2 separate regions of the Homo sapiens genome follow, and region 1 is linked to region 2. Evidence: promoter capture Hi-C in 16 types of primary human blood cells and fetal thymus (Javierre and others, 2016). All regions are on one chromosome and are shown on one strand. The core of a region is centred on a gene start or on the middle of the fragment in contact, and the rest is flanking DNA. Distances in the headings are between cores, read along the strand shown.

Evidence for each region. The method cuts DNA at HindIII sites, captures the fragments that hold promoters and counts their contacts. A CHiCAGO score of 5 or more calls a contact.
Region 1: a fragment that was not itself captured here is called in contact with the fragment with the promoter of KCNA10 in region 2 in 4 of 17 cell types (endothelial precursors, total CD8 T cells, activated CD4 T cells and 1 more); the score reaches 5.7 in endothelial precursors.

What each region holds. Positions count from the first base shown.
Region 1 is chr1:110,757,206-110,761,192 of GRCh38, forward strand. The region is part of intron 1 of LOC124904296 (a long non-coding RNA gene); the gene reads right to left. Among named protein-coding and RNA genes, the nearest start is that of KCNA3, 84 kb to the left of the region's middle. The HindIII fragment of the contact is 280 bases long and covers 1,649-1,928 here.
Region 2 is chr1:110,516,828-110,520,939 of GRCh38, forward strand. It overlaps KCNA10 (potassium voltage-gated channel subfamily A member 10), which reads right to left and starts at 2,348. Exons shown (of 1, transcript NM_005549.2): 1 at 390-2,348. The coding sequence starts at 1,960. The coding sequence ends at 425. The HindIII fragment of the contact is 5,009 bases long and covers 1,764-4,112 here.

The DNA of each region.
Region 1 (3,987 bases), core at 539-3,038, 240 kb after region 2:
AACTACCAATTTCTGAAGTATTATAAATTTGTATTTTGTTGTCTGTTTGTTACATAGTCTGTACTGTAGGTTCATACAGGCAGCCAGCTTCAGGGTGCCAGCAGGCCATAGGAGTTAGAACTGACTACACTGCTCTTTTCTAGAGTATACTGGTTAAGAGCATAGACCTGAAGCCATGTTGTCTGGGTTTAATCCCACCTTGGCACTCACCAGCTACATGATCTTGTCAAATTGCTTAGCCTCTTTGTGCCTCCATTTCCTCTCAAATCATAGATTAACAGATTACTGACAGGCTGAATTCAAATCTATTAAGTAAAATAATGTGTAAAGTGGGGATGGTAATCATGATATCTACCTCAAAGGTTGTTATGAGGGTTAAAGGAGTCGGGATTTGTAAAGTGTTCAGAATACAATTTAAAAATATATTTCTCAGTACTCCTGTTATATTAAAATAGGAAGGCAAATAGGAGGCTCATTAAGCCATTCAAATGATTACTACATGAGTCAGGCAACTGTGCTGGACATCAGTCTTACCATCTAAAGTCACTCTAAAGCTCTACTGTCATTTACTTTCAACATTTTAGGATAACAGCATCATATGTTCTATAAAATTTACAGTTACTGTCTTTGTTCTTGCAACTATTGATTGTTACTAAGTCTTAAGTACCAGGCTAAGTCTATTACATATAGAATATTATTTAAACCTCACAACATATCTTCAAAGATGCCAACTTAGATGGTACCTAGAGGTGAATTAGCCATCACTGTCCCACCTCTGAGTCTCCTTAAAACAAGGACTGCTCTCTTAATCCCCACTCTAGTTTCTTGTCAAGACTAACTAGGGCAGTTTTCCAGTTGGTGCCTCTGGAAATATTGGACATCCTGATTTTTCAGCTGTCTGGAATTGATGGAAAATGTAGTTTCAAGCCAGGGAAGATAATAGAGCGTAGGGGTTAGAAGCAGAAGCTTTGCAATCGGACAGATCTGAGTTGGAGTCCTGACTCTACTCTTTACTAGCTATGTGACCTTGAGAAAGTTCTTTAACATGTAGTCAGCCAACCTTTCATTCATTCCAAAAATATTTACAAGCATCTGTGCAATTCCAGGCTCTGTTCTAGGCTCTGGGGAGACAGCTGGTAATGAAAGAGACTGCAGTCTCTGCTCACATGAGCTTTACATTCAGTGGTTTTATGACTTCTTTATAGGATTGTGGGGAGCTTAATTGGGATAACATAGGTAAAATGCTTAGTGTAGTGCCACTGGAACATATTTGAAAAGGAATAATGTCAGGGAAAATGCAGACACCTTCCTGAATTTTATATTGTTTTCAGACATCTTTTGCCTGACAATAGTGTAGAGGAGTTGCCTTCCAGAATAGCAGTGATTTTTGGAATAACTGATCTGAGGATTGTTCTTCCTTGGCCTCTTTTCAAAGGTGACCAAAAGATGGAAACATACCTAGGATCTTTTATTATAGCAATTTAAAAATATTTATGATAGCTTGTAGAATAATTTGAGAGTAAATTTCATATACGCCTCAACCAAGGAGCCAGCATTACTGGTCATTTAATTGTCCATCCTTCATTGTTTATCTCAATTCTTCAGAAAAATATTCTAGACAAGACTGAAGGTCAGCATTTCATCTTTAAGCTTATTCTAAACCTAAATATTATTGCCCTAAATCTGACTGTACATATAAGAGTAATAAAGGTATTAAGTGGATAAAGAAGATTAATATGGAATGAACCTCTCTATAATTCAAAACAGAAACTACCAATATCTGTAAATTCATACTCTATCTTCCTTCCTTTCACAGTGTACAGACATTACCTTTATCCTATAAAAAATCAGCCCCTCAGATCTTATTCCACTTCTTATCTGCATTATATCCATTTCCTTGGTCATTTGTTTCTCCCCACTAGACTATAAGCTTCTTAAGGGCAGGTGCCATGTTTCACATCTTTATGTATTTTGTTCATATCCTAATGCCTGGCATAGAGTTGGTTTTCGATGTGTGTTTATTGAATTGACTTGAAATGACATAGATTTCCTCTCAAATAATAGACTAATAGATTATTGGCAGGCTAAAATCAAATTCTTCTAACTCTTTCATCTGTTGATTTTATAAAGATTTCTAAAAACATCAAAATGATGGTAAATTTATTTTAAAACACTTTGAATGAAATTTAGCTAAATCAATCCAAAGGCTTAAGTTTAGATAGCCTCACAAAGATGTCATCTCAAACAATGAATTTATCATAGATTCCAGTGAAGAAACATTATTACAAAATCAGAAGTAGTACCTGCCTAATAATGTATATAATTCCACATTAAACGGTTTAAAATGTGCTCTTATTAACTACCACCTCTTTTTTTAGCTTATTTATTTAAACAACTTGACATAAGTATTATTAGATAATCTGATTGCACATTCTCTGGTTATAACAAACAGGAGGACAGACATTATCTTTTATTTGAGTACATATTTTTATAATTTTCAATTGGATGTGAATATATAAAGAGGCTTTAAAAGCTGCTGAAACTTTTGGTTATTTCAGGAAGATTAGTGGAGAATTAATAAGAAAGGAAAAGTTAAAATTTAATCTGGAAAACTTGGGGGCAGGTGTATGCGCTAAAGAATTGGGGGATAAGGGTCACTCAACAAATATTTATTGAGCACTTACTATGTGCGAGCCACTATCCGAGTCTTTTAGATACAGAGAACCCTGCTCTTGCAGAGCTGACATTTAAGTTGGGAGAACATTCATTCAAAGAGATTCTAGTAATAATGACTTTCAAAAGGAACCATTGGATCTCCATTTCTTAGCTTCCTGGAGCTTCTTCGCCCTGTTGAAATGTGAACAGTCCCTTTCTACCTATAAACCCCACAGATTCAGAGAAATTAAAAAGGAAAAGCATGGTCTAGCACAAAACAGGTGCTGTTATAACCTTCCCGGGGTGCAGAGCACCTACTTGTCTTGAGAGGCTACTCAAGTAACTTCCCTGAACAGAAAAATGTTTCAAGGCAATTCTCTCTGTCTATACTAGAATTGACTGGCAACATCCCTGATACAATAAATAATAATATATAGAAGAAAATAAATGCTTCTGTTTCCACAGGCATCTCTATAACATATCTGTCTCAAAAAGATCACAGCAAAAAATAAAGGAGATAATGTAAAGTGTCTAGCATGGTGCCTGGCAAGAGGTTAGCACTAAACACTTAAACATGCACGCACACACAGTCTTCCTCAGCTGCAATGAGAAATATACGGGCCCTGCCTCTGACAGAGAATGTAAATCAGGCTCCTAATTATTCAGCAGAGGCAGTGGGCTCCACCTCCTGCACATCTGGTGTGTGTAAAGCATGTGAATCCCTCTTTAATCAGCAACTCAGAATAATGGCATTTCCAACCCTCATCAGAGAATTCAACCAGGAATTGATTGTGATGAAGCTCTTGCCAAATGCTTGCTGGGACAGTTGATATTTGAGAGAAACTGCCTAATGAATTTGTTATCTGTATGCATTATTTTTCTAGGCTTTTTATTTGAATTAAGAAATCATGAGGAAAACTTACCTGGACTATATTATTGCTAATCTGTATAAAATACTTTGTTGAATTGACATGTGCTGCTTCTTTACATACTTTTTAGCCAATCTGTATTAAAAATATCTGCCTAGCATGGGGCCTGGTCCATGGTAGGTTCTTAATAAGTGTTTGAATATTGAAGGAATGAATCTGCTTGAATAGATTCATGGTTTTTCTTCCTTCGATACAGCCATAAGTGAAAATAACAACCATTAGAATTTGCTTTTTATTCCTTCTCCTTCTGGGGAACTGCTCTTCATCCTTCATGTCTTAGCTGGATATCACCTTCTTTTTGGTCCACCCCTCTGACCCTACCCCACTTTACTTTCTTCTTCAGGCAGGGTTCTAAGTTCTTCCCACCCTGCTCCCACCTCTGGCTTTGCACCTATCACATGTT
Region 2 (4,112 bases), core at 1,098-3,597:
TATGCAAACGAATCACTTGGGATCTTGTTAAACTGCAGATTCTGATTCAGTAGGTCAGAGTAGGCCTAGATTCTGCATTTTCATCCTCCCGGGTGATACCAGTATTTCTGGTCTGGGGACCTGAACTATCCCTTCATAGGAAAAGAGATCCAAATCTTTCTATAATGTATTGAAAAGAAACAGTTTAGAAAATACAGTAGAAGTATGGGCTTATTAAAATAGCTTGTAGTCAAAGATAGTTATTGATCACAAAAGATACATTTTGATCTTTGGAAAGATGAAATGAGAGAAGGGAGAGGGAAAGAGGAAGGAATGAAGGGAGGAAGGGAAGGCAGAAGGAAGAGAGAGAGGAGGGGAGAAAGCGAGAGAGAGAGAGAGAGAAGAGAGAAGAGAGACAGGATGGACCCAAGAAGCCCTGGACTGATCATTTCCTAGACTTCTCTGTGGAACAGCCACCATTGGTCTTATTAAGAGAGTCTGTGCTGCCCATTCTTGAGCCTACACTGTTGAGGATTCTTTCAATTTCTCCTGGGATGTTCTGCTTTTCTTCATTCTCAGTCTCCCGGTGGTAGAAGTAATTGAAGTTGGAGACAATGACAGGCACAGGGAGGGCAATGGTGAGGACCCCTGCAATGGCACACAGAGTGCCCACAATCTTCCCCCCTGGGGTGGTCGGGCACATGTCCCCATAGCCTACAGTTGTCATGGTGACCACTGCCCACCAGAAGCCATCAGGAATGCTAGAGAAATGGGACTCTGGCTCATCCACCTCAGCAAAGTAGACTGCACTGGAGAAGAGGATGACTCCAATGAAGAGAAAGAAGATGAGCAACCCCAACTCCCGCATGGACGCCTTCAGTGTTTGCCCGAGGATCTGCAGCCCCTTGGAGTGGCGCGAGAGCTTGAAGATGCGGAAGACCCTCACCAGGCGGATGATCCTCAGGATGGCCAGGGACATGTTCTGTTGGGCACTCGGCTCTGTCTCCTGGACTAGCTCTGTGATGAGAGTTGCAAAGTAGGGGATAATGGAGATGATGTCAATGATGTTCATGATGTTCCTGAAGAAGTCAGTCTTGCTGGGGCAGACCACGAACCGGAGCACCAGCTCGAAGGTGAACCACACGATGCAGGTAGACTCCACCATGAAGAAAGGGTCGGTGAACATGGTCTGGGAGAGGACTGTCTTGCTCATGTTGAGATTGGGGTCTCTGACCACCTTTAGCTCCCTATCCTCCCGGAACTCTGGCAGTGTCTCCAGGCAGAAGATGGTGATGGAGATGACCACAACCAACACCGAGACCACGGCCACAGCACGGGCAGCGCTGGAACTTTCAGGGTACTCAAAGAGGAGCCAGAACTGACGGTGGATGTCATTGGTGGGTAGCAGTGTTTCAGGGTCTTTGATGAAGCCTTCATCCTCCCGGAACTGGTCCATGGCCTCACTACCCAGCTCATAGAAGGAGATTTCATCAGCAAAGATATCAATGGGAACATTGGCTGGGCGCCGAATTTTCCCACCAGATTGGTAATAATATAGGATTCCATCAAAACTGGGCCGGTTCCGATCAAAGAAATACTCATTTCTCATGGAGTCAAAGAACTGCATCCTTTTTTCCCGGTCTCCCAGGAGAGTCTCTGGGAACTGACTAAGGGTTCTGAGCTGGGTCTCAAATCTCAGCCCAGCAATGTTGATGATCACCCGCTGGTTTCCTTCATTTAGGACCACTGGCTCAGGCCCTGGGGGGTCAGCATAGTCTCCCGGAAGCTTGGAGAAGGCCGTCTCATGGTTGGTGCTTTCGCTGATGAGGATCTTCCCGTTGGAGAAGGAGCTGCCCCCAGGCCGGCCTTTTGGGCTGGTTGAGTCGAAGTCTGTGGCATAGCCTGGCTCTTCTTGGATTTCATCTGAATTATCAAAATTGACCAGCGCAACCTCCATTTCTTTCCAGCCACACACATCCATTCTAGGGGAGCCAGGGAAGAAGCATGAAGATCCTCAGCCTTCACTGCCTGCTGTGAGCTATGGAGAAGAAGAAGTTCATTATACAAGATCCAGGGCAGAATACAACTGGCCCTTGTTTATTGAGGTAAGGTACACCAATGGGCTAATCAATGACTTATTTGTAGCTTGGGAAGGAACGTCATGGTTATTTTGGCAGCATGCTTCCCTTAAAATCATTTTGTACCCCTGAGTTTGCATAAACTAATAACTAGGAGAAATTGCAAAAAAAGGATCCTGGCAAAGAAGGGGAGATTCTCCCCAGCAAAGGATGGTCTCCATATGTGATGGCAGAGGGGCCATACTAAAAGAGGAAGTTAACATTCCTTAATAATAAAAAGCATGATCTTGTATTTGCATGAAGCCTTCTGTCTCACCAAACACGTCTCCATGCCCAATCTCATTCGTAATGCCTCTCTTTCACACCAACAGCCAGTCCCTCACACATCCTTTTGGTCATGTCTTCAAAATATATCTAGAATTCAACCATTTTGCATCACTTCCACCCCTGCTTCTGGACCAAGTGGTGAAGGGTGGAACCAGATCTATGAACCCAATGGGGATTCTTTAGGGAAGGAAAAACAAGACGCTGGGTTGGCCAATCGACAATGTCCTCTAAATGACCCCTCACCTGGAAATAACTCCTAGAGTTGTTTTGAAGGTACCTCAAATGAGATAACACGTATGGAATGCTTGGTGGAAAGAAAGATCACTATATTATAGCTATTGTTTTTTGTCAACTTTCCCACATAACAAGCACTTTAGAAACTACCAGCAATTGGAATTTTTTTTGGCCTGAGTCCAAGGTGTCCATAGGAAGTAATTTCATTTTGAGAAATCATTTTAGGTGGGAAGGAAGTAAATAATTGTGTGTGTCTGTGTGTGTGTGTGTATATGTGTGTGTGTGTGTGTGTGTGTGCGCGCGCACGCTGGAGGTGGGGTTAGGAAATCATGCCCAGTGGGCTTGGACATCTATACACATAGACTAATATTTCTTTCCTCAGGTTCATTCTAGCTTCAGTTTCAATTTAAGAACACTGAACCCAGGCAGGCTGGGGGTGGGAGTGGGAGAGAAGTAAGGGACTTAACCTCAGGCAAAATCTGTAGTGGTCACAGCCTTGGAGAGGTTTCCTTTACAGGCGACAAGGCTATCCTGCAGTGTAGTGTTGTAGTCTTTTCAAAGTGATTCCACATTCACTTATCTCACTAGATGACAATAATCACGTGAGGTTAGATGTTATCTCTGTTTTGCAGATGCGGAAACCAAGTCACAGGGACAAAGTGACTTCCTAAGGTCACATAACTAGTGCTACAGAGTCCTGACCTAAACCTGGCCATGGCCTTCTGGCCCAGGGCCTTTCCCACTAGACCATGGAGTCCCTATATAGGAGCTGAGCCTTGTGGGGAGCTGTAGGCTAGGGCCACAGAATTGTCAGGGGTCCAGAGCTCTTTCCATCCCATGACCCCTTTTCTCAGTTCAGGTGCCATGTGTTGAATGATGAGCTCAAGTCTGGTTGGTCAGCACTGGTAGAGTACCCATTCTACCTCTCAGGAGTATGTGGCCATTGCAAACGGCCTAATTTCACGGAGCTGCTGCTTCCTCAGTTGTGGAATGAGGAAGGATGTACCCACTGCCAAGCATGCCAGGTGCCAGCCTGCTCTGCAAGGCTCGGTGAGCAGTAGGATGGCTGGGAGGCAGGATGGAATCTGAGAATAGAATCAGTCCACCCGAGTTCAAATCCTGGCTCTGTACATGGTAAAGCCCTGGAGAAATGTAGCTTCACAGTAATTCGCATGATGATTTGGGGGCCTTGTCCTGAACTGCTTGGCAGCTGGATGGCTGTGGGTGGGGGACTCCAGCTCTGTGTTGATCTCATGTCTTCGGAGCACCATTTTCTCCTTTGGGGTCTTGGACCGCAGATGGTGCTCCCTGATGATTATCTTCCAGGTGTGAATCAGTCCCGCTTTCTGAGAGGAATGAGTACCATCAGTGAGCTTTGGGCAAGGTTTGGGAACCACTTCCATGGTTCTAGCCAAGGCTAGAGTGACCCTTATCAGGAACTTCTCTGGAGGCCAGCAGCAGAAAGCATTTGGGGATTAGGGAGAGCTTCTTTGG